3 separate regions of the Homo sapiens genome follow, and all the other regions are linked to region 1. The links are contacts of gene promoters, found by promoter capture Hi-C in blood cells and fetal thymus (Javierre and others, 2016). All regions are on one chromosome and are shown on one strand. The core of a region is centred on a gene start or on the middle of the fragment in contact, and the rest is flanking DNA. Distances in the headings are between cores, read along the strand shown. Region 1 holds the start of WDR5B (WD repeat domain 5B). Region 2 holds the start of TIMMDC1 (translocase of inner mitochondrial membrane domain containing 1). Region 3 overlaps COX17 (cytochrome c oxidase copper chaperone COX17).

The links. Contacts are between HindIII fragments. The CHiCAGO score rates a contact against its expected background, and 5 or more counts as called.
Region 2: a contact is called between the fragment with the promoter of TIMMDC1 here and the fragment with the promoter of WDR5B in region 1, in 6 of 17 cell types (non-activated CD4 T cells, total CD8 T cells, naive CD8 T cells and 3 more). The highest score is 7.8, in non-activated CD4 T cells.
Region 3: a contact is called between a fragment that was not itself captured here and the fragment with the promoter of WDR5B in region 1, in 1 of 17 cell types (total CD8 T cells). The highest score is 5.5, in total CD8 T cells.

Annotation. Positions count from the first base shown.
Region 1 is chr3:122,414,003-122,417,514 of GRCh38, reverse strand. WDR5B (WD repeat domain 5B) reads left to right here and starts at 1,453. Exons shown (of 1, transcript NM_019069.4): 1 at 1,453-3,512. The coding sequence starts at 1,987. The coding sequence ends at 2,979. WDR5B-DT (WDR5B divergent transcript) reads right to left here and starts at 1,309. Exons shown (of 3, transcript NR_125405.1): 1 at 1,265-1,309. RefSeq lists enhancers at 1-655, 759-958, 1,119-1,168, 1,199-1,438, 656-1,473 and 1 more. The HindIII fragment of the contact is 1,055 bases long and covers 805-1,859 here.
Region 2 is chr3:119,496,887-119,500,398 of GRCh38, reverse strand. It overlaps TIMMDC1 (translocase of inner mitochondrial membrane domain containing 1), which reads right to left and starts at 1,852. Exons shown (of 7, transcript NM_016589.4): 1 at 1,472-1,852. The coding sequence starts at 1,665. RefSeq lists an enhancer at 2,063-2,112. The HindIII fragment of the contact is 2,873 bases long and covers 1,328-3,512 here.
Region 3 is chr3:119,673,751-119,677,262 of GRCh38, reverse strand. It overlaps COX17 (cytochrome c oxidase copper chaperone COX17), which reads left to right. Exons shown (of 3, transcript NM_005694.2): 1 at 1-59; 2 at 2,030-2,118. The coding sequence ends at 2,114. Among named protein-coding and RNA genes, the nearest start is that of COX17, 1.9 kb to the left of the region's middle. The HindIII fragment of the contact is 1,750 bases long and covers 376-2,125 here.

The DNA.
Region 1 (3,512 bases), core at 204-2,703:
TAAGTATACAATAGGATACCCATTGTTTCCAAGTGCTTTTAAATTCTTGACGCTGATGAGACATTTGCATCGTGACCAGCCACCAGTAAAATCTTTTAAGCCACGTTTTTTCTGCTTTTCTTGGGCACTCTTTTTTTTTTTTTTTTTGAGACGGAGTCTCACTGTTGCCCAGGCTGGAGTGCACTGGTGGAATCTCAGCTTACTGCACCCTCCACCTCCTGGTTCATGCCATTCTCCCACCTCAGCCTCCTGAGTAGCTGGGACTACAGGCGTGCGCCATCACGCGCAGCTAATTTTTGTATTTTTAGCAGTATTGGTTGCGCCATGTTGGTCAGGCTGGTCTCGGACACCCGACCTAAAGTGTCCCGCCCGACTGGGCCTCCCAAAGTGCTGGGATTACAGGCGTGAGTGCTCGGCCTCGGGCACTCTTTACTGAGCAACAACAGGTTGGAGAAACTAGTAGGGCTTCCAGTTTTTTGGTAAACCTATTGTTTAAAAGTCTGCCTGGTCATCAGATTCCAGTCGTCTTGTTTCTGCCTCAGATGATAAAACTCTAAAATTATAGGATGTGAGATCTGGAAAATGTTTGAAAACACTAAAGGGGCACAGTAATTATGTCTTTCGTTGCAACTTCAATAGCATGTATATTTTACACACTTTCATGACCATTAATCATCTCCTAAAACTGGGGAAAGCTCTCTAAAACCTCCTTAAGAGTAACCTTATCCGTTACCCTATTCCACCAACCTCTTTGTCCTTTTCTGTTTCAAGCAACTTTGAGATACCGACTTCTCTATGGAAGCTTAAGCCGTAGATGCTAAAACAAACGTTTGCTCGTTACTCCCAGCAGAGCACCGGCTTTTAAAGGACCTCAACAGACACGTTTCTTAACCTTTACGAAACTTTTCCAGGGGAAACTTAAACCAGGAATTTTACAATCTGGCATAAATTCTGTCACCCGCCCCGTGACTCCATCGCCACACATGCCACCTGGCTCCACACCACAACAAACAGGAGGGAGCGGAACCCATGCAAAGCAGGAGCTTCCCCCGTTTCCGGCGTCTGGGTGGATCTACGTTAGCTGCCGTTTAGGCAGCTTACGCGTCAGGTGTGGGCCTAAGCCTGCAGCTAAGGTAGGCATCCGCAAATCTAGTCCTTCTCTGTGACAATTTCCAAAAAGAAATGGTTTTTGAAACAACGATCCACTGCTTCCCACACTATCCAGTTAGGTCCGGGACAGACCCTACCCAGCTAATGCACTCACCCAAGAAGGCAGTCGCTTTCGCATTTGAAGGGCGGGGCGAAAAAGACCGGAAATGAACATTGGCGACTTTTTTGCGCAGGCGCAGATGGCCGTCTCCCATTGGTCATCTCGGCTCGGTAGTGGTAGGAGGGACTTCCTTTGCACATGCGCCAGGCTGCTTTTCCGGCTTTGTTGGAGATTGACGCGGCAGTGCACACCTGCTGGTACGAGCAAAAGTAGCCGACAGGCCAGAGTTTCCAGTTTCGGTGGCTTCGTAGGCTTTTAGCTTCTGAAATCCGCTAAAAGCGGCGGTTCATTCATCTTCAAGTACCTAGCCTGACTGGTAGGGCTGCTCAGCATTCCGAAACATTTCGACCTGGGGAGGGGGGCGGCGGTGAAAGAATACTTTCTGTAGAGAGTGCCCCTCGCGTCGCCCCTGCTTTGAAGGCTTTATGTATTAACGGAATGCCGAACATTTGTGTCCTACTTGCTGACAGCGCACAGGATCCTTCTAACAGTATTTCTCAAGTACTTAACAAAAAGATGAAAACTTGAAGTCCAAGCCGTGCTGCTGATTCCGTCTCACAGTTTAAAGACTGTCCAGAAACTTTAAGCTTTCAAAACTGTACATTTTAAAATCCTGTGCGTTTATCTTCATTTTGCTGGGCAGAAAGCCAAAGTACTGGACTGCCTGGTTCAGGGCTGAACGCCTAGTACACCTGCTAACTTGGAGCTTCAGAGCCATGGCAACCAAGGAGTCAAGAGACGCCAAAGCACAGTTGGCCCTCTCCTCATCGGCCAATCAGAGCAAGGAAGTGCCTGAAAACCCAAACTATGCTCTCAAATGTACTCTTGTGGGACACACGGAAGCAGTGTCATCAGTTAAGTTTAGTCCTAATGGAGAATGGCTAGCAAGTTCTTCTGCTGATAGGCTAATCATAATTTGGGGAGCATATGATGGAAAATATGAGAAAACACTCTATGGTCATAATTTGGAAATATCGGATGTTGCCTGGTCATCAGATTCCAGTCGTCTTGTTTCTGCCTCAGATGATAAAACTCTAAAATTATGGGATGTGAGATCTGGAAAATGTTTGAAAACACTGAAGGGGCACAGTAATTATGTCTTTTGTTGTAACTTCAATCCGCCATCCAACCTTATAATCTCGGGATCTTTTGATGAGACTGTAAAAATATGGGAGGTGAAAACAGGAAAGTGTCTCAAGACTTTGTCTGCTCATTCTGACCCAGTTTCTGCTGTTCATTTTAATTGTAGTGGGTCCTTGATAGTGTCAGGTAGCTATGATGGCCTCTGTAGAATCTGGGATGCTGCATCAGGTCAGTGTTTAAAAACGCTCGTTGATGACGATAACCCTCCTGTCTCTTTTGTAAAATTTTCTCCAAATGGTAAATACATTCTCACTGCAACTTTGGACAACACTCTTAAACTATGGGATTATAGCAGAGGCAGGTGCCTGAAAACATACACTGGTCATAAGAATGAGAAATATTGCATATTTGCCAATTTTTCAGTTACTGGTGGAAAGTGGATTGTGTCTGGTTCCGAGGATAACCTGGTTTACATTTGGAACCTTCAGACTAAAGAGATTGTGCAGAAATTACAAGGCCATACAGATGTTGTGATCTCAGCAGCTTGTCATCCTACAGAAAACCTCATCGCATCAGCAGCATTAGAAAATGACAAAACAATTAAACTGTGGATGAGTAACCACTAATCCCTTTGAAAATCAAGTAGTAGAGCCAAGTTGGCCAAAAAACTTGGATATTTAAAAAGACGGTTTCTTTTAATTTTGGCAGTTTGGTATTTTAAAAATTGTCTATTGTTAAATTTTGAGATTCATACACTACATTTACAAAATGAGATAGTTGAAAAAGCACATCTAGAATTCAGCTTCTGACTACCAATCTTTTTTGAGCAACTTTTTGTAATTTTTATGGATTTATGTCACTTTTATTACAGGGATATATTGCATAGTGGTGAAATCTGGGCTTAGTATACCCTCACCCAAATAGTATACATTGTACCTAGTAAATACTTTCCCATCTCTCACCCCACTCCCACCTTTGAAGGCTCTAGTGTCTATGATTCTGCTCTCCACGTCCAGGTGTACACATTGTTTATCTCCCACTTACGAGAACATGTGGTTTTTGACTTTCTGTATCATTACTTCACTTAATGGCCTCCAGGTCCATCCATGTTGTTGCAAAAGATAAGATTTCATTATTTTTTTTTGGCTGAGTAGTATTC
Region 2 (3,512 bases), core at 603-3,102, 2.9 Mb after region 1:
ACAGCTATGTTCAGTTTGTGAAAATTCATCCATCAGTATACTTAGGCACATTTTTCGAAATGCATTTCCTACTCCAATAAAAAGTTTTTTAAAAGGTGCTTTTGATGACTATTACACCCCTAGAAATAGGAAGAATTTGTGAGTTGGATAGAGAGACCAATATTTCCGTTTAAATCTTAAGTTAACTTTTAGAAATCACACCAACTCGTGAGATTTTAGGGCAATGTATGAAAGAATAAAAACGTGGATGTAAGACAAAAAATCTAAATTCTATTTTACTAAATAATTTCATGAAATACTCAGATAGGACTGTACTAATAAAAGCACTGGGCTGGGCACAGTAGCACACGCCTGTAGTCACAGCTAACTTAGGAGGCTGAGGTAGGACTTGAGCCCGAGTTCAAATCCAGCATAGCAACATAGCAAAGATCCTGGCTCTAAAAATAAACAAATAAATGTTTTTTTAAAAACGCACTGGGAAAGTTCACTATGCAGTGGGTGGCACATGCCAATCTAAAATAACAAGGAAAAACTACTATTTAATTCGATTTGTTACTCTCAAATGCATAAGAAGCTAGAACTGCTAATGAAGCTTCCAAGATGTCATCCTGAGACTGCTCTAACAAATAGCTGTCTTAAGTATTAAGTTACTATAAAATAATTGCCCTTCTAGGCCGGGCGCAGTCCAGCCGCGGTGGCTCAGGCCTGTAATCCCAGCACTTTGGGAGGCGGAAACAGGCAGATCACGTGAGGTCAGGAGTTCCAGACCAGCCTGGCGAATGGTGAAATCCTGTCTCTACTAAAAATACAAAAATTAGCTGGGCATGGTAGTGGGCAACTGTAATCCCAGCTACTCTGGAGGCTGAGGCAGGAGAACCGCTTGAACCTGGGAAGTGAAGAGTGCAGTGAGCCAAGATCGCACCACTGCACTCCAGCCTGGGCGATAGAGCGCGACTCAGTCTCGAAAAAAAAAAAAAAAAGAAAGAAAAATACGAGTTTGGGCTGGCGCGGTGGCTCACGCCTGTAATCCCAGCACTTTGGGAGGCCGAGGTAGGCGGATCGCCTAAGTCCAAGAGTTCAAGACCAGCCTAGGCAACATGGTAAGAACCCTGTCTATAAAAAATACATTAAAAAAAAATTAGCCGGGCGTGGTGGTGCGCGCCTGTAGTCCCAATTAATCGGGAGGCTGAGGTGGGAGGATCACTTGAGTCCCAGAGGCAGAGGTTGCAGTGAGCCGAGATAGCACCACAGCACTCCAGCCTGGGCGACAGAGCAAGACCCTGTCTGGAAAAAAAAAAAAAAAAAAGAAAGAAAAAAGATACAAGCTTGGGTTACAAATATCAGAACCTCAAATATAATCTAAAAATGAAGCACACCATCCTTGGTGTCCTAAGGCTGACCCAGGCTGCCCACGCTGCAGGACACCGCTTTCGCGGCCCCCTACCCCACTTCACACCCTAGGCACTTTTACTCTTTGCCAAACAGCTCCCGGAGGCGGTCCCATCCAGATTCCGGGTAATAGGGCTCTGGGACGTAGGGAAGCCGCTTCTGACGCTCCTCAAGGACTTCCGAATCGGCAGTCACAGCTTCGGCAGCAAAGACTCGGGGAAATAGGCACAATGCTCTACAGAGAAAGCTCCGCGGTGCCGGTGGCGGCACCTCCATGGCCTTCTCTCGACCTACGGACAAACTTGAGCGCTCAGGACTTCAAGTCCTCGCGGACGTGCCGCGGGAGAGCGTAACTGTACGAGGTGAGAATCCGTGCATTTGACCCAGGTTAACCCTCTGCCAGAGGGCTCGACACCCACACCTTCAGTCCCCGGCCTCGCTTTGGAGTCCTTGGAAATACGACACAGGAAGTCCCGCCCGACCGGGGCAAAGGCCAGGGGGCGGGGCGACGGCGAAGCCGGAGCCCAAAAGACTTCCGGTTGAGGGCGGGTTGGGCCACTGCTGTGCTGAGTGCACCCCCGGAAGTGAGTTGGCTGCCAGTAGTGAAGCTCAGCGTGGTCCCGGCAGGCCTTCGCTCCGTGTTTGTGGTTCCTGGGTCATGCAAACGGTGTCTGCGGCTACTTATATTCAGCTTGAGGTGGTCATAGGTTGAAGTAATTTATCGTATTTAAAATGCCAGGAATTAGCCGGGCATGGTGGCGGGCGCCTGTAATCCTAGCTACTCGGGAGGCTGAGGTAGGAGAATCGCTTGAACCCGGGAGGCGGAGGTTGCAGTGAGCCGAGATCACACCACTGCACTGCAGCCTGGGCAACAAGAGCGAAAATCTGTCTCAAAAAAAAAAAAAAAAGGCAGGAATCCCGCTTCAGTAAGGAAGAAAGTGCAATATTCAGTGCAAGTGGAGTAGGGAAAGAGGGAAAGGCGATTTGTGCAAAAACAAGTCCAACCTACTCTGCCAACATTAGAGAAGCCTTCCAGGCTGGGCGGGGTCCGTTTGTACCTTGTCAGTTCTGCTGGAAAAAAAACGAGGCATTGGGGATGGGTGTTGGTGCCAGTTACACTAAGATTTCGAGAACACTTTTTTGAAGAATCAGCTTTTTGGCAGGTCTTCCTAAGGTGGATTTCACTCCCTTTAGTTCATATGCCTACTGCTTCTCAAAAGGCAGGAGAATTTCTGGAATTTCTATCAAGTGTTTGTATAATTTGCCGTCACTACAACCTCTGCTAACATATGCTTCGAAGTACAGTTTTCATTAAAATGAATGCATTTAAAATATTCTCAATATTCGTGTAATTTCATTCAATCCTTGTTAACAAGCATACTCCCTTATTCATTTTGCCAATCCCTTCACCTCCTTGATTCCTTTCTAGTTGTCAATCAAAACTGCCACACTGTAGTAGAATACAGTAAGTGGACTTAGGAATTTGATAGCTGGAAATGCTACACATAAGTCCCTGAGAAGTGACTGACTAGAGTGACCAGCTCAATTAGTGACAGCGCCATGAAGACTACTCTGGGATATGAGATTTGATTCAGCACTCATCGTAGCACTTACAACACTGCATCATAATTTCCTATTAATCTGTCTCAATAAACTATCCTTGAGATCACAGACCAAATATATTCATCTCTGTATCTCCAGGACCTAGAACCGCAGTAGGTGCTCAGTAAATATTTGTTGAATAATTCAGATCTCCTGACTTCTGGCTCTGGATTACTGCTTATCCCATGTTAGGTAGAAGTGGGCACCAAGATAAGTTACCAAGGCCTGAAAGCCCAAGAAAATGGCTGTACAGTCTGTTTCTAACCTATATGTAGAAAAAGCTAAATGCATAAGATGACCCCAGAATTATTCTGGGGTGAAGGAGGACTTGAAATGGGTAGGAGGGTTTGGGTGGGTGTTGGGAAGATACTGACACAATCACTTATGTACAACTCAAATGCCCCAGGATTCACTAGCCTGTAGATGAGGTAATATTAACAGGCAAATTTTAAATTCCATAACTTGTTTCTCATTTGGGTAACGGAAGACTCATTTGTAATGTTCCTTTTGCCACCTGATAA
Region 3 (3,512 bases), core at 1-2,500, 2.7 Mb after region 1:
AAGAAGCCGCTGAAGCCCTGCTGCGCTTGCCCGGAGACCAAGAAGGCGCGCGATGCGTGGTCAGTGCGCAGCCGGAGAGGGCGCGGCCGACGAGCCCCGGGCCGCGGCCTGTGCCTTCCGGTGCCTCTGCCCTACGGCCTCTGCCCTCTGCCTTCTGCCCTCTGCCCTCTGCCTTCTGCCCTCTGCCCTCTTCCTTCCCCCCTTCCCCCACTCCTCCTCCCTGTCTGCCCCCCCCCCCCGCCCCGCCCCGCCCCGCCCCATTGCGGCGCTCTGGAGATAATTATTGGGCCTTGTAGGTTTCGTGGTCGGGTCTCTGTTGACTTATCCCGTAGCTTAGTACCGGGAAACGATGGAGAGAGAGGAGAACGGCAAGCTTCAACCACTCATTCCTTCCTACAAATGTGTGTTGAGTATCTGTTATGGGTTAAGCACTGCGTTAGGTCCGAAGATGTAGACATGGATAAAGATGCATCTTGATATAAAGGAGCTTAAAGTTAATGGAGACATAAACCAGTGACTTGTATACGACGTGGTAAGGGCTATGATAGATTTGTTAAGACCAAACAGGAAAGGTTTTCTGGTAATTTCTAAGGCTTTCTCCCAAAATTTAGAGACAGTAGGACACAGAGTGTATTCCTTACAGTTCTGAAGAGTTACGCTTCAACCCTTTTAAGACAACCAAAAGTTGAAAATCAATCAGTCTACGACGCAGGGGACAAAGTATTAAGAATAGTTCATCTAGATTGTCAATCCACAAAAGATTTGTTCTCATTTTATATAGCCTCTCTTGTGGAGCAAATCTCATTAGAGGACGTCCTCAGATAACGTGAATGTGCATCTCTTCCTCTGGCCCCTTTTGTCTTCCCAGATAGTAGATATAAGAAAGAAATCATTAGTGGTATAATGGGATAATAAGAGTGTAGGAGCTCAGTGCTTTTATTAATCCTCAGTACTTTGTAAATAATACGGGTAGGATTGAAAGACTAGTCTGAACAAATTGTTCCAGTGGTAACAGTAAGTGCTGTTGAACCTTGAATGGTATGACAGCATGATTAAGAGTCTGGGATCCACAGTCAAGGTTTGAATCTTAATCCACTAACTTGGTGACCTTGAGCCTCATGTGTCTGTAAAATGACTCTAATAAAAGAAACTCCCTCCAGTATTATTGTAAAGGTTAATGATACAAGCCATGTCAAGTGGCTAACACAGTATACATGGCAATAAATGATCAATGAATGCTAGCTATTATCTTCACAATGATCTCACTATCCCAGGCAATCTCCCATTTGCAGGCAGCTCTTGAGCTATTGAAGGATGGGTAGAGTTTCCATGGAAGGAGAACCTATTCCCTTTGTTAAATTCCCTTTGCCTCGATTGCCTCAGACCACGTGGGTTCTCCCCAAATATCCATAGTCAGGAGTCAGTTTTTCCTTGTAATTGAATTGGGCTTAACTTGATTATTTGCAAAATCACATTTTCAGGCCTTAGAAATAAAGCTGTGTAGTCCTAGTCTTTACTTTGTGAATTTTACAAGTAAAATATTCTTTGATCATCATGAGGGGGTGTTTATCTCGGTCTCCTGGCTACCAGATGTTTTTGATGTAATTAGAAGTAGATTTATTTGGTTGTGTTTGAATGTAGGGCAAAATCAGAAAGTTAATTTCTCTGTGATAATAAGCAAAAAATTGAGCTGTTCTCTGTGCCCTTCATTTAGCATAAATATTTTACTCAGTTTATTTCTTTATAGAGCAGTGTTACTCCTTGGATATTGACTAGAGGCAATATTTAATATGCGTGATTATTTCTTATCAGATTTCCCCCCCAAAATCACTTATCTGTGGAATGTCTTCATAGGCATGGGCATATCATAAGATCAAATAAAAACAAAGCTGTTTGAGGTAATAGCGTTTGTTTTAATTCCAGCTACATTCCATTATACCCGTGTTTTGTCTCACTCCCCATCACTATCATGCATACTTAATAATGTGCTTAATGCATATTTAGATAACAAGTACATTTTGTTTTATAGTATCATCGAGAAAGGAGAAGAACACTGTGGACATCTAATTGAGGCCCACAAGGAATGCATGAGAGCCCTAGGATTTAAAATATGAAATGGTAAGCTTCTTGCTTCAAAGTTGTGTATTGCTTTACAGATTTAGCAACAATTGGGCTACATTCTCTCTGAAAGGTAGTTCACCTGGTTAATCTAAAATGCTTAAGTATCAATTTGAAAAAACCATGATTTTTCAGTTCCCAATGAAGGGAGTAAATTATGTCAGTAAAGACAGTCATTTAGCGGATTGGGGAAGGGGAGAATTGAGCTTTTAAGAAAGGGTTTGACAAAAGCCTTTAGGTCCCATGGCTTTAGGAAAATTGACTGAGGGAACTAAAAGAAACATATTCTCTTTCTTGTTTCTAATAAATATTGTGGGACTTCAGTAAATGCTTTTTTTTTTTTTTTTTTGAGACAGGGTCTCACTCTGTTACCCAGGCTGGGGTGAAGTGGCCCAATCACAGCTCATTGCAGCCTCAACCTGGGAGGTTCAGGTGATCCTCCCCTCAGCCTCCTAAGTAACTGGGACTACAGGTGTGGGCCACCGTGCCTGGCTAATTTTTTGTGTTGTTTTTTAGAGATGGGGTTTCACCATCTTGCCCAGGCTGGTCTCAACCTCTTGGACTCAGGCAATCCTCCTGCCTTGGTCTCCCAAAGTGCTGGGATTAAGAGGTGTGAGCCACTATGCCTGGCCAAGAAATGCTTTTAAGTAGGGAGTGGGTATCCCACGGAAGTATTGCTTTCTGAAAAATGAAAATGGAATTGTAGCATGCTTTATTCGAATAAAACTAAAGCCTCAGGCCATTTTTTTTTTAATTAAAAAGTAAACTTTAATGTCAAAAATGCAAACTTGGGGAAGACAGAAAAGATCACACACAAGGCTGTCACTTCACACTTGGAAGGTTGCACAGCGGCCGGGCAGAGGTGCTCCTCACTTCCCAGACGTGGGGCAGCCGGGCAGTGGTGCTCTTCACTTCCCAGACAGGGCAGAAGCCGGGCCGAGGCACTCCTCACTTCCCAGACAGTGGGCAGCTGGGCAGAGACGCTCCACACTTCCCAGACGGTGGGGCGGCCAGGCAGAGGCGCTCCTCACATCCCAGACAGGGCGGCAGCTGGGCAGAGGCGCTCCTCACATCCCAGACGGGGCAGCAGCTGGGCAGAGGCGCTCCTCACTTCCCAGACGGGGCAGCAGCCGGGCAGAGGGGCACCTCACTTCCCAGATGGGGTGGTGGCCAGGCGGAGAGGCACCTCACTTCCCAGACGGGGTGGCCGGACAGAGGTACTCCTCACTTCCCAGACAGTGGGCAGCCGGGCAGTGGCACTCCTGACATCCCAGACAGGGCGGTGGGCCTCAGGCCATTTTTAAAAGAACTTGGAACTCTTAACCCATTTTAAGTGCTGAAAGGGACCTTAAGTGGTATGTGTCCAACAATTCCACAAACAAATGATACTCTTT